Regions from separate parts of the Homo sapiens genome. Here region 2 is linked to region 1. The links are contacts of gene promoters, found by promoter capture Hi-C in human tissues and cell types (Jung and others, 2019). All regions are on one chromosome and are shown on one strand. The core of a region is centred on a gene start or on the middle of the fragment in contact, and the rest is flanking DNA. Distances in the headings are between cores, read along the strand shown.

Region 1 (6,325 bases), core at 2,426-4,925:
ATTCTCATCCTAGGTAGAAAGAGTGACAATTTTTCTTTTGTCTTCTGCAGTGATGATGAGATTTTGCATCACTGCATCCACTCAGTCACAGGGGGTCACTGAGAGCCTATGGTGACCCTGTCTTTAGAATTTGCTCAGAGGCTTTTAAGCTTTCCCTTCACTCTAAGCTCTGACCCTGTTTTAGGATCTGGCCCTTCTTAAACTGTCATTCACAGAGAGGTCTTGGAGGAGTCACAGAGTCCTTATTTCTACAGATTGACAACTGTGCTCCAGGCTTCCATTGGCCTCGTAGAAGTGCGAGCACCTTTTAGCTACACCTCAGTCTCTGTGGTCAGAGGATCTGATTGATTTGAGCTATTGGGGAGGATGATTGACTCATATTTTCCTGAATGACACTGTGCAGAAGAATCACAACTAAGAACAAGGACATTCCTCCTCTTGTGGAATCTAGCCTTCCAACTGGTGATATCCACCTGATAAGCACAGTGCCAGTGATATGATCTGAATCTGTGCCCCTACCCAAATCTCATGTTGAAATGTAATCCCCAATTCTGGAAGTGGGGCCTGATAGATGGTGGTTGTATCTTAGAGGCAGTTTCTCATGGTTTCACACCATCCCCCTTGGGTGCTGTCCTCTTGACAATGAGTTTTTATGAGATCTGGTGGTTTATAAGTGTGTGGCACCTCCTCCCCACCCTCTCTTGCTTCTGCTCCAGTCATGTAAGATCTGCCTGCTTCTTTTTCACCTTCTGCCATGATTGTAAATTTCCTGAGGGCACCCTAGCGGCAGAAGTCGCTATGCTTCCTGTAGAGCCTGCAGAACCATGAGCCAATTAAATCTCTTTCCTTTCTAAATTACCCACCCTGAGATTTTTTTTTATAGCAATGGAAGAAAAGACTAATACAGCCAGACATGCTCATTTTTTTTCAAGGTGATCAATTACAAAGCAGTCAGTTTATTGCGTCTGCACATCAACTGTCTCTGTAGGAAAACCCATCAAGGCTGCTGCTCCCTATAGCAGGCCTGCTTGCAACCCATCTTTGATGGGCCATGTATGGACTTCCCCAACTGGGGATTCTGGATATCTGAAGACCTTCCCAGTTTGAGGTTACTGAGGGGTGGAAGACTGGATGAAGCAGAAAAGTTGATGGAAGAGGTAGCCAGCCATCAATTCAACCATGAATCTGCTAGTCCCACAAGCTTGGCCCCAGACAGGCAAATTAGGAAAATGTGGTTCAAAAGTACGGTGTGTATAAATGGATCCATATGCCTCATATGTGCTTTCAGCTGAAAGGCAGGCACCTTCTAATGGCCAGGTACCTTCCTGTTGATAGCAAAAGATGGAGTATTCCACATAAGTAACCATAAAATGTTCCAGATAGTTGAATTAAGACCTTGTTTTCTCTTCTTTAAAGGGTAGCCATTAAGGCAGTATAGGTTCCAAACATTCTGTACAAATCCAGTGACTCTGATAATATGTGGTAAAATACAACTAAGAAACAGCATGGAGGCTCGTGTTTGGAGAACCCAGCAGAGACAGCATAGCCAGGCCCAATAGTGCATTTGGATCCTTGCCCCAGAATAGTTAGTGGAAGTGTGTGCACCATCTACCACAACCAGGGTGGCCTTGGGTTTTCCCACTCCTGTTCCTTCCTTTGTTGTCACAGCCATGGAAAATCAATGGCACTAATCTCTGCTTCTAAACTTTCTACATGTTACATGATCTCTCAGGCCAGGACAAACTATTGAGTTAATGTGTGAGCAGCATTGGCCCCCGAGGAAAGATCTAGGTGAGTGTCTAGATTCACATGATTCCACGTCAAGGCAGAGGCTGTGCTTGGCAAACTGTTTAGTTTCTTTCCAGCTCCCCTCTGTTTGGTAGAGTAATGCTGCTTTTTGTTACAATGAAGAGGCTAACAGAAAAATCCATCATCTATTGCATGTAATTGTATAGGCCTAAGAAGGGCATGGTCTACACTATAGCTTCTGAATCCTGGGCTGTACCGGCATCGTCTAAGGCTAAGGTATTGTCTGCCTGACTGCCAGAATCTGTAGTGACAGCCCCACAACATGGCCAGCCACACACAGAGTGACACTGATGGTGCCCTTGTGTCCAGGCTTCAAGCAGATGAGATGCCAACATGTTTGTCCTTCAAGTGACCTCCACTAGGGGGCCAGGACCCATGAATATCTATTTGGAGTTCTACCCTGAGGGGTAAGGAATATTTTCTCACTTCATCTTGATCCTACCTGGATGCTTTTGCTATCATCACTGGCTCACAGTCTTGCTTACTTTCTAGCCCTGAGAGTTTAGGATAACCTGCTAAGCAGGTGTATTTGAAATGGGGGTATTAAAATAAACTCTTGGGAAAGTATTTTTAAAAAGACATATGCAGTCTTGTCCTAGAGATATATATTTGTACATTAGACTCATATTCCTGACATTATTCTGGAAAGGTGAGGTTATCTTATACACATTTATTGTCACAAATACTGAACTAATAGCCCTCTTTTATCACTCAGAAGGAACATGCTGGAAATAGTCTATCTCCAAAAAAATCTGGCTTTAAAAAGGATGAATTTAAGCCACACCAATTCATGTTAAATTGCCAGTAGATGGAAACTATGTTACCACAACTCACTGAATTGCTAACTTTTCTGTGAAAGAATTAAAACGAGGTTTGTATTTTCTGTTTCCATGTGACCATGATTCCTTACTCTTAATAACTGTGAAATTGAGTTAGAAGTAAAATGTGACAGGCGGGAAGCCTCCAGTACACACAGTAGGGAGTGACTCTTCTCTCCACCTGCTCTAGGATGCCAGGATCTCACTGGTGAGAAGATTCACCCTCTTCTCCTGCAACTTAAAGGGAAAAATGTAAAATCCAAATTCTGGTTTGGTAAGCTGGGTACAAACCATTGTCTATTAGATTATCCTCAATCAATGCTGTCCCTAAACCCTTCTTTCCACTAAAGATGAATGGGGGAGATGCTTATTTATTCCTTTATAGATCTGCAAAACATCCATCATAACCTCTATATGTTTGTAGCATCCAACACTTAAGCTACTTCTCCTTGAAAATCTTTTTTTTTCTTTTTTTTCTCTTTTTTTTTTTTTGAGATGGAATCTCACTCTGTTACCCAGGCTGGAGTGCAGTGGCATGATCTCAGTTCACTGCAACCTCCGCCTCCCAGGTTCAAGCAATTCTCCTGCCTCAGCCACCCAAGTAGCTGGGACTACAGTTATGCACTACCATGCCCAGCTAATTTTTGTAATTTTAGTAGAGATGGGGTTTCACCATATTAGCCAGGCTGGTCTTGAACTCCTGACCTCAGGCAGTCCACCTGCTCAGCATCCCAAAGTTCTGGGATGACAGGTGTGAGCCACCACGGCCAGCCTGAACATCCTTTTTGCTATTCAAAACAGATAAGGGAAAGAGAGGCCTGATTAGCACCCCAAGTCCAAGGAAACAGAGAAGAGGAGCCTGAACAGTTACTCACAGATAGAGGAGTATCAGGCTGACAGCCAGGAGAAGCCAGGTTTCCACGGCCAAGTTTGGGATGAGATCCATCACTACTTTCCTTCCTTATCTCTCTCCTCTGAGTCTTTTTTTCAGCAGCGTGCTGCTGTTTGCTGGGCTGTGTGTGTGGAGCTTTCCTGCCCTGCACAGCAGTGATTCAGTGAGGCTGTTGGATTGTTTATATGCTGGAGAAGGAGGCAGGGCTGGAGCTGCAGCCAGTAGCAGGGCCCCCGTGCTCTGCCTGCAGTCGGAAGAGGCTTCTCCACCTCGGCAGTTGGCAAATAATCACACACACACCACTCACTGACCTCCATTGAGTTAATATTCTATGTAGAATCATACACAACTCAATCAATGTTACTGGGGAGTCCAAGGGTTCTGGGTTCTTATCACAAACTCAAGTGGAGCCATTGGCATAAAATCTATTAACTCTCCTCTTGTCTCTATGGCTGTCCTCATTCCAGAATACTTGAAACTCATCCCAACAAGCCATGCCTACAGATCTTTACCTATGCCTGGAGTGTGCCTGTGCCCCCTAGAAGACTCCTACACATCCTTTCATACCCAGCCAGACAGAGCCTTCTCTTAGAGTCTTTCCTCACCAACCCCCTCACACAGAAGTAACCATTTCCTCCCCTGGGCACTTTCCATCCCCTTCATGCAGTTCTATTGTCTTCTTTCCTCTTTACCACCATTGTGTGTTTCCAGGCCTGTTTCCCTTAGCAGAGGTGAGCTCCTCAAGGGCATAGTCTGGTCTTACTCACTCTCATGGCTCTGGTCCCTATCAGGGTGCTGTACACACAGTGGGGACCAGAAAGGCTGGTGGAGTTGACTTGGCTGAGATTGCTGGGCCCCTGTGTGTCACTTCCTCTGACTTTCTGGTGACCACTCCATCTTCTTAGGTCATTAATACAGCCAGAGCTCTTGGCTGTGCCTCAGCTGCTGTCTCTGCACTTTCAGATTTGTCCTCTGTGATTCTGTTGGCAAGAGGACCCCTAAAAAAGAGACATGGCATGGATGAGATGGAGCTGATGGCTTAGTGGAATAGCATCAATTTGTGCTTCTTCCTCTGTAGCTTTCAAAAGTCCTGCCGTAGATAGAAAGTTAGACAGGTTCTTTGCCAAAGAGTGGCCCCTTCTCTCTGGAAATACTGCATGTCTGGAAACAGTAGGGGAGAAAGAAGAGAAGAGAACAGCTGCCCAGATGGCCAGGTTGACCCAAACCACCTCAGCCAGCAACAATGGGGCAGTGGTCACTGCAGGTCACACAGCATCAAGGACTCCAATGAGGTGGTCCCAGCCTCTTGAGGGTGGAATTGGAATTCAAAGCAAATGGCTTCCTTTTTGACAAGTGGAGGATTTTCTAATGGGAGGAGAGCAGGTGCCAGGAGCTGGTAGAGATGAGGCCTGTAATAACAGTTGCTGCCACCTGTGAGCCCTGTGACCCATTCCTGATGGGAGAGATCTCAGTGATGAGGGTGTGAAAATTATATCAGCTCATTATCATCACTCACACCCAAGTTCTGTGTCTGCTTGGCCTGAGAAATGGATTCCATGACAAACAAAATCTCAGAGTTGTTAAAACTCAGTAGAAACAGATGATGTTTAAGCTGTGCTTGTTCACTTCCTTCTCTCTTTATTCTTTCTCAGGTTCAGCACTCCTGCAGAAACTGATACTCACCCCAGAAAGACACCTTTTCCCATCCCTCTGGCCCCTAAGCCTCCAGGGCTGCTCGGCACCTGGCCTCAGCAGGTGAACATCATGCCAGATTCCTTGTCAGATTCAAGGCCAAGTGGGTGAATGTCATGTGCAGTGTTGTGCCAGGTATGTGCCGGGAGCCACATGTTCCTTGGGGACAGCCTAGTGAAGCAGGAGACAAATAAACATGCTTGGATGGAGGTATGCATGTGCTGTAACTCTGGAATCCCTGGAATAATGGAGCCCTACAGAGAGGTACCTAAGAAAAGAAGTGACAGCGTCAAAGCAACAAAGGACAGACACGGGTAGGTGGGTGACAATCCCCAGGAGAAGTAGGATAAAAGTCCAGGGAATTCTGGTACATTTCTGTCTCCTTTCAGTGGCTTCGCTGAGCACATTAAATAGGGCCATGCTACTATCCCCAGTTTACAGATGTAGAAACTGAGGCTCAGTGACTGCAAGTAGCTTCCCAACTGATACTGATCACAATAAAATATTATAAAAAGTTAACAGGAAGGGAGATATTAGGTCCTCTGCTGCTCTGGTGCACCTGCCATTCCTTGCTAAGCATCACTATGGCAAATAGTAAGACTCAAGGCTGCAACCAGAAATTGGTTGAGATTCGTGTTCCTGTCTCAAGGGTTACTCCCAGTGGCACCCCCTGGGTTTTCTAGAACAAAGGACTCCATCTCAGCAGGGAGAAAGAAAGATGCAGTTTCTGACCATATCAATGGCATTGCTGGAGGATCTCCCTCTCTATGTTGCCACACCGAGAGGTGCACAGAACACATTCTGACAAGTAAAGATTCCAGTGTCATCTGATAACTATCAACAACTTCATTAGCTCACCTAAACAAAGAGCCTTTCTTATTTTTTTAGAAACAAAACTCTTATGGAAACGATTATGTTTTCTTCTTTCCTCTAAAACACTTACTTGGCTAAGATGATTTTTATTCTAAGATGAAGATTTACCTGCCCTACAAACTTCAGGAGGTGGTGTGACTGGTTGGAATCTATACCAACAGTGATAGACTAATCGTTGCTTGGAATTCAAATGCAGCCAGCACTCTGTCCTAACTAATGAAATTGGTGTTGTTCTGCAAAG
Region 2 (6,284 bases), core at 483-2,982, 42 kb after region 1:
CTAAAGAGCTTCTACACAGCAAAAGAAACTATCATCAGAGCAAACAGGCAACCTACAGAATGGGAGAAAATTTTTGCAATCTATCCATCTGACGAAGGGCTAACATCCAGAATCTACAAAGAACTTAAACAAATTTACAAGAAAAAAAGCAAACAACCCCATCAAAAAATGGGCAAAGGATATGAACAGACACTTCTCAAAAGAAGACATCTATGCAGCCAACAGACATGTGAAAAAATGCTCATCATCACTGGTCATTAGAGAAATGCAAATCAAAACCACAATGAGATACCATCTCATGCCAGGTAGTATGGTGATCATTAAAAAGTCAGGAAACAACAGATGCTGGAGAGGATGTGGAGAAATAGGAACACTTTTACACTGTTGGTGGGAGTGTAAATTAGTTCAACCATTGTGGAAGACAGTGTGGTGATTCCTCAAGGATCTAGAACTAGAAATACCATTTGACCCAGCAATCCCATTACTGGGCATATACCCAAAGCATAAATCATTCTATGATAAAGACACATGCACACATATGTTTATTGCAGAACTATTCACAATACCAAAGACTTGGAACCAACCCAAATGTCCATCAGTGACAGACTGGATAAAGAAAATGTGCCACGTATACCCCATGGAATACTATGCAGCCATAAAAAAACAATGAGTTCATGTCCTTTGCAGGGACAAGGATGAAGCTGGAAACCATCATTCTCAGCAAACTATCACAAGATCAGAAAACTCAACACCACATGTTCTCACTCCTAAGTAGGAGTTGAACAATGAGAACACATGGACACGGGGAGGGAAACATCACACACTGGGGCCTGTTGTTGGGTGGGGGGCTAGGGGAGAGATAGCATTAGGAGAAATACCTAATGTAGGTGACAGGTTGATGGGTGCAGCAAACCACCATGGCACGTGTATACCTATGTAACAAAACTACACATTCTATGCATGTAACCCAGAACTTAAAGTATAATTTAAAAAACTAAAAATAAAAAATAAAATAAAATCACAGTCCATCAGCCCGCCAGTGGTTAAGAATATTCAGCATTTCTTCAAATTCAGCAGGAAGGTATAGACAAAGAAATGCTTATATACCCTTCTATTAAAAAGTCTTGGCTTAAATTTAATAACAAAACAGAATGAAAAGTTCCACACTTGCAGATAAAATTAAAAAACAACAACAGCAGAGTATAAATGGTTTGCCAATCTATTTCTCTATTATCTCTCAACCCTTCATTCAAAAGCACTTTAAATCCAAAGTCTAAATGAAAGAGTTTTGGCTTTTAATTGAAAGTGAATTGATGTGGGAAGGAGATGATATGATGTATTTATGAGCACATATTAGAAGGGTCTGAGACAACACATGTAATAAAAGGGCACCTAAGGAAAAAAAAAAAGAAGAGGGGAATAGGCAGACACTGGACAGAGCATGATGCTGTGAGTCCCTGGGCCACCAAAGTCTGGAGAAAAGTAATCACAATGCTCCCAGCCTAGTTCAGACTGTAGAACTTGACACCTGGTGACACATGGGATCCTTGGTAGGACAACCTTCGAAAAGTTTTACAATAACCAGTGTGAATGTTGTTAGAACCAAAATGATGTCACTAGTTGTGTGTGTGTGTGTGTGTGTGTGTGTGTGTGTGTGTGTGTGTAAAAACCCTGACAAATAAATCAAAGAAGGCTATGAAGAGAGGATTCTCATGCTTGTGTGCCTGATAACAAAACTATCACAAAAGACTCCGCAAAACTACAAGCTTGCACAAAGGCCATCCCAACATTAAAAAAAATATTTCTGCAAGGACACCTGCCCAGCAACTGCCTGTCCAACCTTGGTGAGGCGTCACCCTTGTTACTGATCTTTGTAGCGAAGGATAATTATTTCAAAACTGATAAGAAATCCTCCTCATATTTTCCTTGGAGCCTCTTTGTCTTGCTTTACTTCCCTGAATTTGCACATAGTTTATAAAGGCATGCAGATTCCCATTGCAATACTCTACACCCAAATAAATATCTTCTTCTTTCAGAGAACTTCTCTCTGTTTGTAGTTAGGTTGACAAGAGCTTCATCCCAAGAGGCTTTGGGCTGAGACTGTCCTCTGTGCAGTGGGGTAAACTCATCATAGAAACAAGTCTATCCAATGGAAGTTTCCAGAATACTCACCCCCACACTTTTCCATACTTTTTATGACATTCCATGTCAAACATACAAAAGCCCTGGGAGGAGAAACAAAATAATATTTGATTATTATTTTTAATGTACTTAACCCTGCCTCTAATTGGGATGAAAACAGTCGAAGCCAATGAAATCAGACTTGCTGGCAGTTAGAGGAAGCTTATTTGGAGACGTCATAAAGGAAATAAGAGAAAACAGAGGAGGTATTTGAAAAGGGAAATTTAAAATCACTCTTGAATTCTCTCCAAGTGTTGTGGATACTGAATGACTTATCCTTGTGTATAAATACTAAGTACCTCTTTGTCTTTCTGATGTCTTTTTGCTTTTTCATGTGTTGTCTTGAAAATCTCATGAATCCCTGAATGATCACCTCCAGGGGCACATGGGGAAACTGAGGCCAAGGGAAAGTGAATTAGCATCAGAAGAGAATGCACAGTGTTTTATCTCTTTGTCATCCTTTTCATTTATTTCATGAGCTCGCTCTAGAGTTCTAGCAGAATTGGAAAGTTACAGACACCAGGGAACTCCTTTAGTCTAGCAGATTTAGGTAAGTATGAGGCATGTTGTTGAGTGAGAAAATGAACGAGTGACAGAATGACAAAGTGAACTCACTTTCCAGTTTTCCAGCTTAACATGGAAGTTCTGAGAAAATGTCCCCTCTACACATCGGACACAGCAAATTACAACACTTGCTCAGAGTTTTCACTGAAACTTAAAAACAAACCTTCCTGTATCGACATTTCAGGGGTGACATTTTAACTGTGCAAACAAAGGTCCCAGGAATGTGCATCTTGGGGGTACATCTACTAAAGAGTTGACCTGGAAAAGGTGGCGGGGAAATTATTGCTTTTGCACAGGGAAAAAATATGAAATTCCTGGATAGTAATTAGACAACAAAGCCCTCACCTGAGAGAATTAGAATCTGAGAAACAAGCCTCAGGTATGTGGGAAAGATGATGTAAGCCAAAGAGCTGACTGCTGCGGCTGGCCATGTGGACATGGGCTCCTAATTTTCCATCCAGGGCCCAGACCCTGGGCAGAGCATCAGACTAGGTTAGGCACAAAGGCTCGGCCAAAGTTCACGGTCCACGTGGCACATATTATATTCTATTCAGCAAAATTAAATATTTAATAATTTCATCAAATCATCCCCTTTCTAGTGATTTTGCATGTGATTCCGCCTTTGTGTAAAAAAAAAACCCCACAAACTCATTTTGTGCTTAAATATCTGAGTTTGATTGACCACCACTGTCTCATCTCAGTTATATCCAGTCTGTGATCAGACTCACCCATAAGGTGCAGCCTTTGAAGGAAAAGAAATAAAGCAGAACCCCTTTGTTCTGTCTCTCAAAGCTGCAAAAGATGTCATGGGGAGTAAGAGCTGGGGTAGAGCCATGGAGATACCCTCAGGGAATTTAGCATTTTTCGGAGAGGATTGAAGCAGGTGCAAATGACCCAAAGGTAAATACCTGGGCTCCCTAATAAATTGAGTTTCAAAGCTGTCCAGAAGGAAGGGAAAAAAGGCTACTCAAGAGCTCTTGCTACAGAGAGGAAAGTTTGACTCTCATGTACACAGATAACAAGTCACAATCAGGGGGTCCTTTTCCTACTTTTAATACTAACTAAGTATGACTGTACCTTCCTGGGAACCTGCATAGAGCAAAAAGAAAACCTTCTTTATGGCGCTCACAAAGTTTGCACATCAAGTTCTGAGCATCAGGTTGCTGATCTACCTGAGATTTGGGCTGTTCAACTGAGGCAAACCTGAGGTTCCTGAGAGTTAGCAAGAGAGCCCTTGGGTAAACATTGCCATGTTCTGGGTGATGCCTACACACTGTTTCTGAAAGTGTAAAACTTCAGACCTTCCCCCTGAGGAGAAGCATTTTTACTGATGGAACTAAGCTGCTCTTGGCAATCATAAGAAGCAAAAGAGTGAGCTCAAAAACACTCACCTTATGGTAGGACAAAATATTTCCCAAAAAAGGCAGAGGTGTGGGCCCTGGAATTCCAAGCTTCTTAAAAAGTCCATGTGAATGGGTTCCATATCTACAAAGTGAAACAGAAATCAAGTCACAGCGATTGTGACTTTATAGATATAGGGGTTGATGAGTCATTGACTGAGGAACTGGAATGCTCAAGAGAACGAGGTAACATTAAGGCAAGAAATAATAACAGTAACTCTGACGGCAATGATTATATTTGTTCATCAGGTCCTTTCCTGCCTCCACCATGAGACACCAAAAAGTTACAATGATTAGCTCAAAGCAGCTGAAGTCTTCATGGTCCCAGTCCTGGAATGAATATTTGATAAATGTTCTCAAATGTGAATGATCCTGAGAGGTTCAGGCAGGAATTCTTCCAGGTCACTTTGTTCCTTTACGTCTATTTAGTAAGTGGCCTCTCCCCAAATTTGGGGATTCTCATCCTAGGTAGAAAGGGTGACATTTTTTTGTCTTCCGCAGTGATGATGAGATTTTGCATCACTGCAGCCACTCAGTCACAGAGGGTCACTGAGAGCCTATGGTGACCCTGTCTTTAGAATTTGCTCAGAGGCTTTTATGCTTTCCCTTCCCTCTAAGCTCTGACCCTGTTTTAGGATCTGGTTCTTCTTAAACCGTCATTCACAGAGAGGTCTTGGAGGAGTCACAGAGTCCTTATTTCTACAGATTGACAACTGTGCTCAAGGCTTCCATTGACCTCATAGAAATGTGAGCAGCTTTCAGCTACACCTCAGTCTCTGTGATCAGATGATCTGGTTGATTTGACCTATTGGGAAGGATGATTGACTCATATTTCCCTGAATGACAGTGTGCAGAAGAATCACAACTAAAGAACCAATTTCCAGGTCATTCCTCCTCTTGTGGAATCTAGCCTTCCAACTGGTGATATTCATCTGATTAGCACAGTGCCAGTGATATGGTCTGAATCTGTGCCCCTACCAAAATCTCATGTTGAAATGCAATCCCCAATACTGGAGGTGGGGCCTGGTAGGAGATGATTGGATCCTAGGGGCAGTTTCTCATCGTTTCACACCATCCCGCCTTAGGTGTTGTCCTCGTGACAATGAGTTTTTATGAGATCTGGTGGTTTGAATGTGTGGCACCTTCTCCCCAGCCTCTCTTGCTTCTGCTCCAGCCATGTAAGATCTGTCTGCTTCTCCTTCACCTTCTGCCATGATTGTAAATTTCCTGAGACCTCCCTAGAGGAAGAAGTCACTATGCTTTCTGTACAGCCTGCAGAACCATGAGACAATTAAATCCCTTTTCTTTATAAATACCCAGACTCTGGTATTTCTTTATAACAATGCAAGAAAAGACTAACATAGCCAGACATGCTAATTTTTCTCAAGGTGGTCAATCACAAAGCAGTCAGTTTATTGCATCTGCCCATCAACTATCTCTGTAGGAAAACCCATTAAGGCTGGTGCTCCCTAAGGCAGGCCTGCTTGCAACTCATCTTTGATGGGTCATGTATGAACTCCCCGAACTGGGGTTTCTGGATGTCTGAAGACCTTCCCAGTCTGATGTTACTGAGGGTTGGAAGACTGGAGGAAGAAGAAAAGCTGATGGAAGAGGTCACCATCCTTCAACTCAACCATGAATCTGCTAGTCCCACAAGGTTGGCCCCAGAGAGGCAAATTAGGAAAATGTAGCTGAAAAGCATGGTGTGTATAAATGGATCCATATGCTTCATATGGGCTTTTAGCTAAAAGGTAGGGGCCTTCGAATGTCCACATTCCCTCCTGTTTATAACAAAAGATGTAGTATTCCACATAAGTAAACATAAAATGTTCCAGACAGTTGAATTAAAACCTTGTTTTCTCTTCTTTAAAGGGTAGCCCTTAAGACAGTATAGGTTCCAAATATTCTGTACAAATCCGGTGACTGTGATAATATGTGGTAAAATACAACTGAGAAATGGCGTGGAGGCTCATGTTTGGGGGACCCAGCAGAAGCAGCATAGCCAGGCCCAATAGTGCATTTGGATCTTTGCCCCAGAACAGTTAGTGGAAGCGTGTGCACCATCTACCAAAACCAGGGTGGCCTTGGGTTTTCCCACTCCTGTTCCTTCCTTTGTTGTCACAGCCATGGCAAATAAAT

The links. Contacts are between HindIII fragments. The study calls those that stand out against the background at their distance.
Region 2: a contact is called between a fragment that was not itself captured here and the fragment with the promoter of CYP3A7 in region 1, in 2 of the 25 tissues and cell types used here (bladder and pancreas).

What each region holds. Positions count from the first base shown.
Region 1 is chr7:99,731,521-99,737,845 of GRCh38, forward strand. It overlaps CYP3A7 (cytochrome P450 family 3 subfamily A member 7), which reads right to left and starts at 3,676. Exons shown (of 13, transcript NM_000765.5): 1 at 3,503-3,676. The coding sequence starts at 3,573. CYP3A7-CYP3A51P (CYP3A7-CYP3A51P readthrough) reads right to left here and starts at 3,676. Exons shown (of 15, transcript NM_001256497.3): 1 at 3,503-3,676. The coding sequence starts at 3,573. It also overlaps a transcript of ZSCAN25 not described here. RefSeq lists promoters at 3,573-6,325, 3,573-3,815 and enhancers at 3,821-3,851, 4,836-6,035, 5,133-5,144. The HindIII fragment of the contact is 8,535 bases long and covers 676-6,325 here.
Region 2 is chr7:99,775,856-99,782,139 of GRCh38, forward strand. CYP3A4 (cytochrome P450 family 3 subfamily A member 4) reads right to left here. Exons shown (of 13, transcript NM_017460.6): 2 at 4,137-4,230; 3 at 2,173-2,225. Among named protein-coding and RNA genes, the nearest start is that of CYP3A4, 5.2 kb to the right of the region's middle. The HindIII fragment of the contact is 3,073 bases long and covers 197-3,269 here.